2 separate regions of the Homo sapiens genome follow, and region 2 is linked to region 1. Evidence: promoter capture Hi-C in 16 types of primary human blood cells and fetal thymus (Javierre and others, 2016). All regions are on one chromosome and are shown on one strand. Each heading gives the region's core, a stretch centred on a gene start or on the middle of the fragment in contact. The rest is flanking DNA. Distances are from core to core; before and after follow the strand shown.

The links. Contacts are between HindIII fragments. The CHiCAGO score rates a contact against its expected background, and 5 or more counts as called.
Region 2: a contact is called between a fragment that was not itself captured here and the fragment with the promoter of GPR151 in region 1, in 1 of 17 cell types (monocytes). The highest score is 6.6, in monocytes.

What each region holds. Positions count from the first base shown.
Region 1 is chr5:146,514,324-146,520,777 of GRCh38, forward strand. It overlaps GPR151 (G protein-coupled receptor 151), which reads right to left and starts at 1,867. Exons shown (of 1, transcript NM_194251.3): 1 at 1-1,867. The coding sequence starts at 1,790. The coding sequence ends at 531. The HindIII fragment of the contact is 3,538 bases long and covers 1-2,378 here.
Region 2 is chr5:146,277,521-146,284,478 of GRCh38, forward strand. All of the region lies in intron 18 of RBM27-POU4F3 (RBM27-POU4F3 readthrough), which reads left to right. The region is part of intron 19 of RBM27 (RNA binding motif protein 27); the gene reads left to right. Among named protein-coding and RNA genes, the nearest start is that of POU4F3, 58 kb to the right of the region's middle. The HindIII fragment of the contact is 1,354 bases long and covers 2,425-3,778 here.

The sequences.
Region 1 (6,454 bases), core at 617-3,116:
AAGTAAATTAACACTTATTAAGTAAATGAAGAACGCATTAAAATTTATCATTAATGTGTTAAAAATCTCAAGTGAAAGTAGATTTTGAGCTTTGGTTATGTGAAATACAATTTAGTAGGTAAAATTAGGACTAGCAGGTCCTGGGTGAAACTGAAGGTAAAGGGGCTCAGCTTTGACAGAACCTCTACTGCAGGCTCCAGCCGGTCCACTACAGGGCTGGTCCTAGGGGGTACCCAGTAAAACCACTGTGAACAAATGACAGAATAGCCAGGCTGTCTAATCACTTTGACAGCAACATCTTTACACAACACTTAAATTGTTTGGGAAGCCAAGTTCTAATTCTGAAACAATTATTACTTCTAACATGGTTCTCTACTTACCACATTGCACATTTGGAAAGTGTAGATTGTGAAATATTTTTATAATTCCTAATGGTAATAATTATATCAGTTTGTAAAGTCAGCAATATTGATAAGCAGCAGTACAAGTAAATACAATAATCACAGTTTGTTTTGCTTTGAAACTTAAATCTATTTAACACCTTCCCCTGTCTCTTGATCTTCATGTTCCCAGGGGATAGGGTCATTGTCCTGTACAGAAGGGACTGTGTCCCTCTCATGCCAAAACTGCTCTACGTCAGGAAGGATGGGAATCTCTGCCTTCTCAGTTTTCCCTTTGCCAGAGGAGGGAGAGCTGGGTTTCTCTTTTTCTGGTATGGATGCTGGGGATTCTGGAGATGGAACCTTGTCAGGAAGACCCTCTGAGTTGCCAGCTGGTGTTTCCTGAGACTCTGAGACAGTTGGAGGTTTTTTGGTTATCATCCATTTCCATACACCTTTCAAGCCTTCCCTGAACTCTTCCGACATCACAAGAAAAATGAGAGGATTTGCTGAAGAGATGGAAAACATCAAGACTTGAGACAGGGCTATGAAACCTTGTGGTGGGGCCGGGCCTGCAGCCTTCAGATGCCATACCCACAGCCAAGCTACCCATTCGGGGAGCCACAAGAGAGCAGAGATGATGGCAATGCTCAGCAGCATCACTGTGACTTGCTTTGAGCGTATCTGGTTTCTAAGATTTTGAGTCTTAGTTCCTCGTTTTTTACATTGGTCATAAGCTCTCCAGAAATAAAAGCTGGCAAAAAATAATGGAAGGCCAAATGCCAGGAGTGGGTAGAGCTTACCAAACATCGACATAAACTCTTCAGCCACAGCTGGTACATCCACGAGGCACATTTCCACACCTTCATGATGCCTGATGGTGCTAAAGAACCATTCCGGCAGGGGTAACAGGCTAGCCACAGTCCAGATGGCCACCAGCACTGACCAGATGGTGTAGTTGTGGATACTCACTTGCTTGGCTGGGTCACTTGCATACATGAAGCATACTTTGGCCACCACAACGATTGTCAGGCTCTTGGCTGCCATGCATGTGTGGATAAACCAGTCAGAGGACTTGCAGACAAACCAGCCTAGATCCCAAACACTTTTGGAGTACGCCGTAGCTCGGATAGGTGCAGAAAACAGCAGGAGGGAGAGATCAGCCAGGCTGAGATTCAGAATCAGGGAGTGGATCATGGATGGCTTTCCTTTCCAAGCATTGTGAAGGAGGATGCCAATCACACACAGGTTTCCCACGAAGCCCACCAGGCAGACAGCCACCAAGAGAGCCGGGATGATGGTTCTCCAGTCCTGGGAATCAGAGGGCAGGTACCCTCCGGCAAAGTGGAGGTGAGCAAAGGACACATTCATGCTGCTGGAGTTAGAGTCTGCAAAGGCAGCTGCCAGCATCACTCTTCACAGCTTCTTACAGAAGTTAGATTCTTATTTAGGTTTGTCTTTCTGCCTGGGCTCTTTTGCATAGGAAATAAGTACTCTGTCGTCAGTGTCAAATGACACTTCTGGATCCTCCCCTTGCTTATTTCCTGAGAGCAGAATGTGGAAGGAGGCTGGCTGTTAAGCTCTTCTCTGCTGCATACAATATACTTGTGACTGTACCGACTGTCAGATAGCAGGAGCACATGGCTGCTGCTCATTAGCAAGTCTAATACCAAATCGTCAGCCCTGTGGAGTAATACAAATATACCCATAAATGATGAATGAAGAGAACATACATGTAAGTGGCATGTGTTCCTTGGGGGGTCACTAGAGCCAGTCAAGGCAATTATTTTCAACCAGCTCTTCCTAAAATCTTGACTGCTGTCTGTAATTTAGTGAACACTACATCTGAACCAAGTTCTTTGAACTTCACCTGATGGCCGGATCCAGTGGGTCTGGAGTAGGGCCCAAGAAATCATTTCTAACAAGTTCCCATGAGACTCTGATGCTGCAGGTTGGGAGACCACACTTTGAGAACCACTGTTTTAAACTGAGAACTAAAGCTTCCCCTACCCACTCTGCAGAGATGAGCTTCCTCTTCTTTTCCCCAACCCTTACAACCACCTCAGTTCCATCAACAGCTGGCTGAGTTCAAACACAGCTGGATAATGAAAACAAGTTAGAAGTCCTATTAAAAAAATCTAATTATGGATGACTCTCAGTTTATTCTATTACGAGTTTTTAGAAGCAATTTTACAGCTCCAAATTAGAACTGCTTTACATACTAATAAGACTTTTCAACAAGTGATGGTGATGAAGGCAACTGCATGATGAATTAAGCTGCTTTTCAGAGAGCATTCCTAGAGGATTTACCAAGACAAGAGAAATGAAAGAAAAATCAATATCTATGTGGAAGGCATTTAAGAGATTTTTTTAAATTATATTTTAAAGTTGGTAAAGATTTTGTGCTGGGCACACTGGCTCATGCCTGTAATCCCAGAATTTGGGGAGGTGGAGGCGGGAGGATTGCTTAAGGCCAGAAGTTCGAGACCAGCCTGGGCAACAAAGTGAGACCCCTGCCCCCACCTCTACCAAACAAACAAGAAAAAAAAAAAAAAGAAAAAAAAAAAAGTCAGCCATGATGGTGTACACCTGTAGTCCTAGCTACTTAAGAGACTGAGGTGAGAGGGTTGCTTAAGCCCAGGAGTTCGAGGTTGCAGTGAGCTATGACTGTGCTGCTGCACTCCAACCTGAGTGACAGAGTGATCCTCTGTCTCTAGAAATAAAAAAATTCTCAGATAAGATGATTTGGTAGAACTAGCCCTGAAATTTTAAAATAAGCAATGGATACTCTGGGGGGATTAGAGGAGCTCAAAATGTTCAGAGAATGGGGTTTGTGGGGTTGATATGAAGATACATGCTACATTGAGTGTGGCTAGTCAGAAAAGCTAAAGCATGATATACAGGAGAGTATGCTGCTGCATTCAGATCTCTGGATTCTGGTACTGTGCTTTCACGTTTTTCGCAAGTAAAGAAGGGTCTGACGTTTTAAAATTCTTCAGTGTCCTAGAAAATAAATAAGTAGTGATCAGTATAGCTATTGGGACAGTGGTCAGTGGTGCTGGGTTCCTTTGTTTCCATTTCTATTTCCTTTTGCTTTCCTTCCTTTTACCTCTGGGAAGTAGTTGTTCCTATAGAACAGTAAATTGGGGCAACACCTTATTCCAGCAAGGCACAGTAACTCCCAGTAACTACTTAAGGATGAAATATCCTTGAGTCTCAACAAGCATCACTTTTGGGTGTGAAGAGGCCCGCAACGTCTTACAGGGAAGAAAATGGGGGAGGGAGCAGAGTGATGTTTTGCAGATTGTAGACTACAAGGAAGGTAGTTCACTTGATGTATGTGGAAGAGATTCATTCAGAACCAAGAAACAAATATACTGCTTCACACTGTGGCTTATATATTCAAGATTATGATATTCAAGCCTCCTGAAGCTGTATAAGATAAAAAGCTAAATGGGTTCAAGCCACCTTTAATACCATGGAAATTTGATTCTTAATAGACAATTGAGGGAAACTAAAGACTGTCATGTGGTACTTCCCAAGTCTATTGGTACTGACTCAGGGAAGCATCTCCTGGTGCTCCAGCTAGAGATAAAGTCTTTGGACTGAAGGATAATGAACTTTCTCCGCTCTTTTGGGGGAAATTTATTTTAACTTTTTATTTAAAAATAATTGCTTCTGGGCACGGTAGCTCACACCTGTAATCCCAGCACTTTGGGAGGCCAAGGCAGGTGGATCACCCGAGGTCAGGAGTTCAAGACAAGCCTGGCCAACATAGTGAAACCCCGTCGCTACTAAAAAATACAAAAATTAGCCAGGTGTGGTGGCACATGCCTGTAGTCTCAGCTACTCGGGAGGCTGAGGCGGGAGAATTGCTTGAATCTGGGAGGCTGAGGTTGCAGTGAGCCGAGATGGTCCCACTGCATTCCAGCCTGGGTGACAAAGAGAGACTCTGTCTTAAAAAATAAAAAAATAAAAATAATTGCAAATGTATAGAGAAAAAATGCAAGAAGAGCACAAAGAATTGCCCTATATACTTCATCTGAGTTCACCGATTAATTATTTATTGAGACACAGTCTCACTTTGTCACCCCAGGCTGGAGTGCAGTAGCGCACTCTTGGCTCACTGCAAGCTCTGCCTCCTGGGTTCATGCCATTCTCCTGCCTCAGCCTCCTGAGTAGCTGGGACTACAGGTGCCCGCCACCATGCCTGGCTAAATTTTTTTTTATATTTTTAGTAGAGACGGGGTTTCACCGTGTTAGCCGGGATGGTCTCGATCTCCTGATCTCGTGATCCGCCCGCCTCGGCCTCCCAAAGTGCTGGAATTACTGGCTTGAGCCACTGCGCCCGGCTGAAAATTTCAACATGTGATTTTGGAGGGCACATAAAGATTCAGACCATACTACCCAAGTTTCACATTTTACTTTGAATATTAGCCCTTGTATATCTGAGTATCTGATGGATGTTATATGTGGCTTGTATCTACATTTTCTTCATTTTAAAATTATTTCCGTATAAAGGATAAATGTAATTAGCAAACATAAAAGAAGTCTTTATTTGCATTATAAGTGGAAGTTATTTGAATCTTTGTTTATAGCATATTCACTTAAAACATAGAATTCAGTTGTAGATGTGGTGAACATTTGTCAGGTTTCCTTATTTTTATTTATTTTGGGGAGGTGCCTAGTATATGAACCTCTCCTGTTGGATAGAAGGGATTCTGGGGAAAAATGATATGGATGGGGTGGATAGAGCAGAACAATTAAAAACAATTGAGAATTATTTGAGATGGAAACTGGAAACAACCTCATCCCCACAAAATGCTGGAAACAACCCAAATGTTTATCAGCTGGTCAATAGATAAACAAGTGGCTACCTTCATGCCATGGAACATTATTCAGCAATAAAAATGAATGATAAATTCAACAATATGGATGAAAAAAAGCACTATGCTAAATAAAAACATCCAGACCAAAAAAAAAAATACCTACAGTAAGATTCCATTAATAGGAAATGTCCAGAAAAGGCAAATCTATAGAAACAGGAAGTAGAATAGTGGTTCCCTGGGTCCCGAGGTGTGAAAGGGGAGTGACCGCAAATAGGCACAGAGGATATGTTTGGGGTGATGAAAATGTTCTATGATTGCATTTTATGGTATGCAAATTATACCTCAATAAAAGCTCTTTTCAAGAAAGGAGTTATTTGGGATGGAGAAAAGGTAAAGAGCAGATTTCCCTGCTCTTGAAATGCTGAGTAGCCTCCAGCAGAATGGATATTCTATTCTGAGACTTTTAAATTTATTTTTATTTTTATTTTTTCTGAGGGCTCTGTCGCCCAGGCTGGAGTGCAGTGGCACGATCTCAGCTCACTGCAACCTCAGCCTCTTGAGTAGCTGGGTCTACAGGTGCCCGCCACCATGCCTGGCTAATTTTTTTGTATTTTTAGTAGAGATGGGGTTTCGCCATGTTGACCAGGCTGGTCTCAAACTCTGACCAAAAGCAATCCACCCACCTCGGCCTCCCAAAGTGCTGGGATTACAGGCATGAGCCACAACAGCCTATTCTGACTGATTTAAAAAAATAGTTTATGAAGAAAGAGACTGTGGCCTAGAGGGACCAAGCGAAAGGACAGTGCTGGGTGAGAAAGGATATGAGGGGAGCAGGGAGAAAGGGAGACTCAGAACGTAGAGACACAAAATTTGCTGGGTCCCTCTGATGCCTAGTGTCCCTGGCTTTAAATGGTCTTTCAGAAAAGCCTTCTCTAATTCCACACTTAAGCTAAGGCTGTAGCCACAGAGCAGCTGCCAACCCCAAATGCGTCAGCTGTGTCACTTTCCTGACACACACACCACTCATAGTGATGTTGCCAGGAGGTTGGCTCTGGACATTGAGAAGCAGTCATCAAACAACTGAACATCTGAGCTGTAGGCATATATATATATATATATATATATATATATATATATATATATATATATGTACACACACACACACACACACACACACACACACACAATTCTGCTTTATATGTAAGTTACAGGGGACCTCATTCAGCTTAATCTTCAAAAGAACCC
Region 2 (6,958 bases), core at 1,852-4,351, 240 kb before region 1:
TTTTTTTTTTTTTTTTTTTTGAGACGGAGTCTTGCTGTGTCACCCAGGCTGGAGTGCAGTGGCACGATCTTGGCTCCCTGCAACCTCCACCTCCTGGGTTCATGCCATTCTCCTGCCTCAGCCACCCGAGCAGCTGGGACCACAGGCGCCCGCCACCAGGCCCAGCTAATTTTTTTTTTTTTTTTGTATTTTTAGTAGAGGCGGGGTTTCACCATGTTGGTCAGGCTGGTCTCAAACTCCTGATCTCAGGTGACCTCCCACCTCGGCCTCCCAAAGTGCTGGGATTACAGGCATGAGCCACCGCGCCTGGCCAATAATTTTTCATTATGTGGGACAGTGCTGCACATTGTAAAACTTCTGGCACCCCTGGCTACCACCTACTAATTGCCAGTAAGTGCTACTTAGTCAGTGTGACTGCCAAAATACCTGCTAGAGTGATGTCTCCAATTGAGAACCACTGCTTTAGGTAAATTCCTAGGAAGGAGATAACTGGATCAAAGGCATGCATTGAAATTTTGGTACAGCTCGCTAAATAACCCTTCAGAATGTTGTACTAATTTATACTTGTAGTGACATTGGATGAGAGTACCTATTTGCTCATTCCCTCATATAGCACTTGAATTTTGTTTTTTTATCTGCCAGTCAGTTGATTGATACATGATGACTGGCATAGATTGGGCGTCAGTTTCTAATCGGGGAAAATGGCTGGACTAGATGAATTTCTCTTTGAGCAGCTTCTACCAAGAACCCTAATATGCATATAATTTTTAATTTATGGTATATATAGTTGATCTCATATTCACATATATATGTATTTTATTTGAATTATTTCCTTGGCCAACACACGTAAACAAAATGAAAAAGGAATAAAAGTGTATACAATGAAAAATAAGATTTCCTTCTACCTCCAGTCACTCAATTTCACTCCCCATAGACAATTATTGTTACGAGTTTCTCATACATCTGCTTAAAGATATTCTCTCTCTATATATATTATTTGTTCTCTCTTTTATAAAAATGGTAGCATGTTATACAACACCGTTTTGCCATATGTACTTTTACTTTATATTAGATTTTAAATTGTTCTACACTAGTGCATGTGGTGTTGCTTCATTCTTTTTAATGACTGCATGGTATTTCATTGCACAGATATATAATACTACAGTTGAACCATCCTGTATTGATGGACATCCAATTTTTTCCCAATTTTTTTTTTTTTTTGAGACGGAGTCTGGCTGCCTCCCAGGCTGGAGTGCAGTGATGCAGTCTGAGCTCACTGCATGCTCCGCCTCGCAGGTTCATGCCATTCTCCTGCCTCAGCCTCCCGAGTAGCTGGGACTACAGGCACTCGCCACCACGCCTGGCTAATTTTTTGTATTTTGAGTAGAGACGGGGTTTCACCGTGTTAGCCAGGATGGTCTCGATCTCCTGACCTCGTGATCTGCCCGCCTCTGCCTCCCAAAGTGCTGGGATTACAGGCATCAGCCCCTGCGCCTGGCCTTTTTTCCCAATATTTTATCATTTTAAACCATATTTAGATGTGTATGTGAGAGAATGTATATGTATGTGTAGAACAATTAGGTACTGTAATAAGTAACAAATATGTTAAGAGATTAATCCTAGATTTTTTTAAAAAGTACTTTTTAGGGCTGGGTGCGGTGGCTCACACCTGTAATCCCAGCACTTTGGGAGCCCCAGGTGGGTGGATCACGAGGTCAGGAGATTGAGACCATCCTGGCTGACACAGTGAAACCCCATCTCTACTAAGAATACAGAAAATTAGCCGGGCATGGTGGCGTGCACCTGGAGTCCCAGCTACTCAGGAGGCTGAGGCAGGAGAATCACTTAAACCTGGGAGGCGGGTTACAGTGAGCCGAGATCGCGCCACTGCACTCCAGCCTGGGCGACAGAGTGAGACTCTGTCTAAAAAACAAAAAAACAAAAAAAAAACAAAACTTTTAAAAATAAAAATATAATGTATGCAAATGGTTAAAAGGATGACTAGGGCCAGGTACGGTGGCTCACGCCTATAATCACAGCACTTTGGGAGGCCGAGGCGGGTGGATCACCTGACCTCAGGAGTTTGAGACCAGCCTGGCCAACATGGCAAAACCCTATCTCAACAAAAAATACAAAAATTAGCTAGCTGTGGTGGCATCTGCCTGTAGTCGCAGCTACTCGGGAGCCTGAGGCACATGAATTGCTTGAGCCCAGGAGGTGGAGGTTGGAGTGAACCCAGATTGCGCCACTGCACTCCAGCCTGGGCAATAGAGCAAGACTCTGTCTCAAAAAAAAAAAAAAAAAAAGTATGACTAATAAAAGTAAAATCTCCCTTTTATTAATCTTTTTCCATTCTTAAAAGATAGTCACTATTCTTAGGTATCTTTATAGAAAAATACTATGTATGTAAGAAAACATATATAAAGCTTCTCACTTTAAAAACATTTACGAAAATGTGATCGTATTATACATACAGGGCTGCATTCCAAACCTTGCCTTTTTCACATAAAAATCTTAGCTATCTGGTATTCCTTTAATTTTTTTTTTTTTTGGAGACAGAGTCTCAAGTCACCTGTCACCCAGGCCGGAGTGCAGTGGTACGATCTCAGCTCACTGCAACCTCCACCTCCCAGGTTCAGGGATTCTCCTTTCTTCGCCTCCTGAGTAGCTGGGATTATAGGCATGCACCACCGCGCCCAGCTAATTTTTGTATTTTTAGTAGAGATGAGGTTTCACCATGTTGGCCAGCTGGTCTCAAACTCCTGAACTCAGGTGATCTACCTGCCTCAGCCTCAAAGGGCTGGGATTATAGGCATGTGCCACCACGCCCGACCTATTTCCTTAAAATTTTTAAAGGTTATACCTATAGTCAACTAAAAATGTTTATAAAAACCAACTATACTGATCATAAACATATAGTTCAATGATTTATGAGAAGGCAAACACCTAATATACCTATACCTCAGGTCAAGAAATAGAACATTTCCAATACCCCAATCTCCCTTGTTGCTCCCTCCAGCCTCTATCTATCTTCTCTCCTTCTCAGAGCAGTAACTGTTAGCCTCACTTTATGATAGTCACCTTGCTTTCTTTATACAGTCAATCCTTATTATTTTCAGATTCCACATTTGCCAATTCATCTACTCACTAAAATTTATTTGTAACCCCAAAATCAATACTTATGGTGTTTTGTGGTCATTCTCAGACATACACACAGTTGCCAGTCCCCTCATGAGCCCGTTTTCAGCTGAGATAGAAATAAGGTGGTGCTATGCCTTCTTGTTTCAGCTTTTATACTGTAAACAAATGCCCCTTTTGCAGTCTATTTGTTTTATTTATTTATTTATTTATTTTTGAGACAGAGTCTCGCTCTGTCACTCAGGCTGGAGTGCAGTGGCATGATCTTGGCTCACTGCAGCCTTCGCCTCCCGGGTTCAAGTGATTATCTTGCCTCAGCCTACCTAGTAGCTGGGATTACAGGCGCCCACCACCACACCCAACTAATTTTTGTATTTTTAGTAGTAGAGACGAGGTTTCACCATGTTGGCCAGGTTGGTCTCAAACTCCTGACATCGGCCTCCTAAAGTGCTAGGATGACAGGCGTGAGCCCCTGCGCCCAGCCTTTGCAGTCTATTTAATGCCACATTTTTCTCAATTTTTTTTGTTTTCTTGGTGATTAAACTGTTTTAAATGGCCCCCGAATGTAGTTCTAAAGTCCTGTCTAGTGTTCCTAAGTGCAAGGCTGTGATATGCCTTACAAAGATACATGTGTTAGTTAAGCTTTGTTCAGGCATGAGTGAGTGCTTTTGGCCATGAGTTCAATGTTAATGAATCAGTAACATATATTAAATAAGATGTCTTTCAACAGAAACACATAAAACCAAAGTTTGTGTTGATTAGCTGACAAAAATGTTGTGACCCTCTAAAACAGGAGTGTCCAATCTTTTGGCTTCCCTGGACCACACTGGAAGAAGAATAATTGTCTTGGGCCACACATAAAATACACTAACACTAATGATACCTGATGAACAGGAAAAAAAAATCTCATAGTGTTTTAAGAAAGTTTATGAAATTTGTGTTGGGCTGCATTCAAAGCCATCCTGGGCCATATGTGGCCCATGGGCCACAGGTTGGACAAGGTTGCTCTAGAGGCTCATAAGAGTCTAATTCTATTTCCCCTATAAGTAGTGGCTATTTGCCAGTTAAATGTTTGCATCAACTTTTTAGAACAAAACTACTGCAAGTAATGAGAATTGACTGTAGTTTTATCACCTAAATATGCATTCCTAAATATTAGAGTAGTATTCTGCCTGTTTTTAAAATGTTATGTAAATGGAATCACACAGTGTATATTCTTTTGTGCTTGGCTTCTTCTGTTTAATGTTTGTGAGACTCATTCATGTTTTTACATGTAACATTAATTTGCCATTTTTATTACTATATAATAGTTGTATCAATATACCACAGTTTATTTTTCATCTTTTTTTTTTTTTTTTTTTTTGAGATGGAGTCTCACTCTGTTGCCCAGGCCAGATCACAGTGGCGCGATCTCGGCTCTTGGCAACCTCCACCTCATGGGTTCAAGCGATTCTCTCCTGCCTCAGCCTCCTGAGTAGCTGGGATTATGGGCGTGTGCCAGTACCCCTGGCTAATTTTTGTATTTTTAGTAGAGATGGTGTTTCTCCATGTTGGACAGGCTGGTCTTGAACTGCTGACCTCAGGTGATCCGCCCACCTCGGCCTCCCAAAGTGTTAGGATTACAGGCGTGAGCCACCGCACCCAGCCTCATCCTCTTACTGATGGATGTTTGGGTTATTTCTACTATGTGGCTTTTGTAAGCAGTGTTGCTATCTTATACATGTTTTTAACTACACATGTACACACCATTTCTCTTGGATATACAGTTGGCCCTTCATATGTGTGGGTTTCACCTCCATGGATTCAACCTATTTTGGATCAAAAATATTGGGAAAAAAATGAAAGGTTGCATCTGTACTGAGCATGTACATTTTTTGTCATTATTCCCTAAACAATACAGTATAACAACTATTTACATAGCTTTTACATTGCATTAGATATTATAAGTAATCTAGAGAGGATTCAAAGTATATAGGAGAATGTGTGTAGATTACATGCTAATACTACACTATTTTATGTAAATGACTTGAGCATTCATGGATTTTGGTATTCACAGAGAGTCCTGGAACCAGTCCCCCAGAAACACCAAGTGATGACTGTATGTGGAATTGCTGAGTGAACCCCATCAGTTTTAGATTCTTACCAGTTTAGAATCAGTTTGAGATTCTCACCATTTGTGTATGAGAATTCCTAACTTGGTAGCGTCATAATATATCTTTATTCTAATTGCTAATTTATTTGATTTGTTGTAAGTTAGATAGTAGAAATTATTTGTTCTTAATTTCAGACTCTGTATACATTTCTTATTCTTCCTTTAATAATGTATATGCAATACATTTAATGCCTTAATATTCCTTTTGGAGGACAGACCTCTTATCCTCTTTGGAGAGCAACACAGTTATTACAGATTTAAAAATCTTTATTACTTTTTCTGTTTATAAAAGTAATATGTTTTTATTTAGAAATTCAAATAATAAAGAAATGAACAAAACAAGCAGGGAAAGCCTCTCTATAATTGGGCTGTGTGTTAAAGGATAGAGTAAAGGGTAAAGGATCTCTGTTACGTACATTACCTAATTTTTAAAAGATGGTAAATATAGACCAGGTGCTGTGGCTCGTGCCTGTAATTCCAACACTTTGGGAGGCTAAGGTGGGAGAATTCCTCGAGCCCAAGAGTTTGAGACCAGCCTGGGCAACATCGGGAGACCCCGTCTATAAAAATAAAAAAATTAGCCAGGTGAGGTGGTGCATGCCTGTGGTCTCAGCTCCTTGGGAAGCTGAAGTGGGAGGATCACTTGGACCCAGGGAGTCGAGGCTGCAGTGAGTGTGATCTTCCCACTGCACATTCCAGCCTGGGAATCAGAGCAAGACCCTGTCTCAAAAAGAAAAAAAAAAGGTACATATCTATATTTGGTAGGGCTATTTTGATACATCAGTTTGGTATGTCCCATGAGTCATAATGTTTGGTGTTAGGTTATGAGCATTTAGACCCTTCAAGGAATGGTGGGAATTTTTCCCTTAGAACACAGGACGATGTCTGTGCAGGCAGTAATGGATTTATGAGTCTGCTCTAATGTACATTCTCACCATGCTATGCTCCAAGTGTTTTATGGAAACATTTGGCAAATGCTTCAGGAGGTTTAGCAATGATTTTGCTAGATAGACTAGAATGAAAGCCCAAATAAAAAAGAATCTCTTCTATTATGTTTTTTAGAACCCCCAGTTCTATAAATGAGGACCTTTGATAGGAAAGCTATAGGGATGGCTAAACTTCTACTTTTCTGAAACTTTGGATCCCTAGTCCCTTGTCTGTGTTGCTTTGTCTTTAAAATTTGCTTTCCCCTATTGGAATTTGCTGGGGAGAAAAAAATGTTTAAAAATTAGTACCAAGTAACATTTGAAATGGAGCAGTTTTATGAGTTAGGATAGTATTAGGCATTTGTTTAATGTTTATTGAATGCATAGATGAGCTGGGAGGTGCTTATTAGTGTATAGCGTTTCAGAAGTGGAAATAAGAAGAACTTTATCCAACATAGGTGGGGCTGTGAGAGATGCAGTGAGATGAATAAGCAGATGATTCACCTTTTTTCTAAGGTTTGAGTCTATATATGTAGATATCAAAGCCAAAGGTCAATACCTGTATTAAGAATATTTCTTGTCCTCATCATGACTTTTGTAAGTAGAGCAACTCTACTTAGAAAAAAAATTATTTCTTCAACCAAGACAGATGCTAACATTTACCTGACACAGATATAAACCATGGGTTATCCTAGGCAAACCAGAACATATAGTTGCTCTAATTAAAAGGGACTTTATTTTT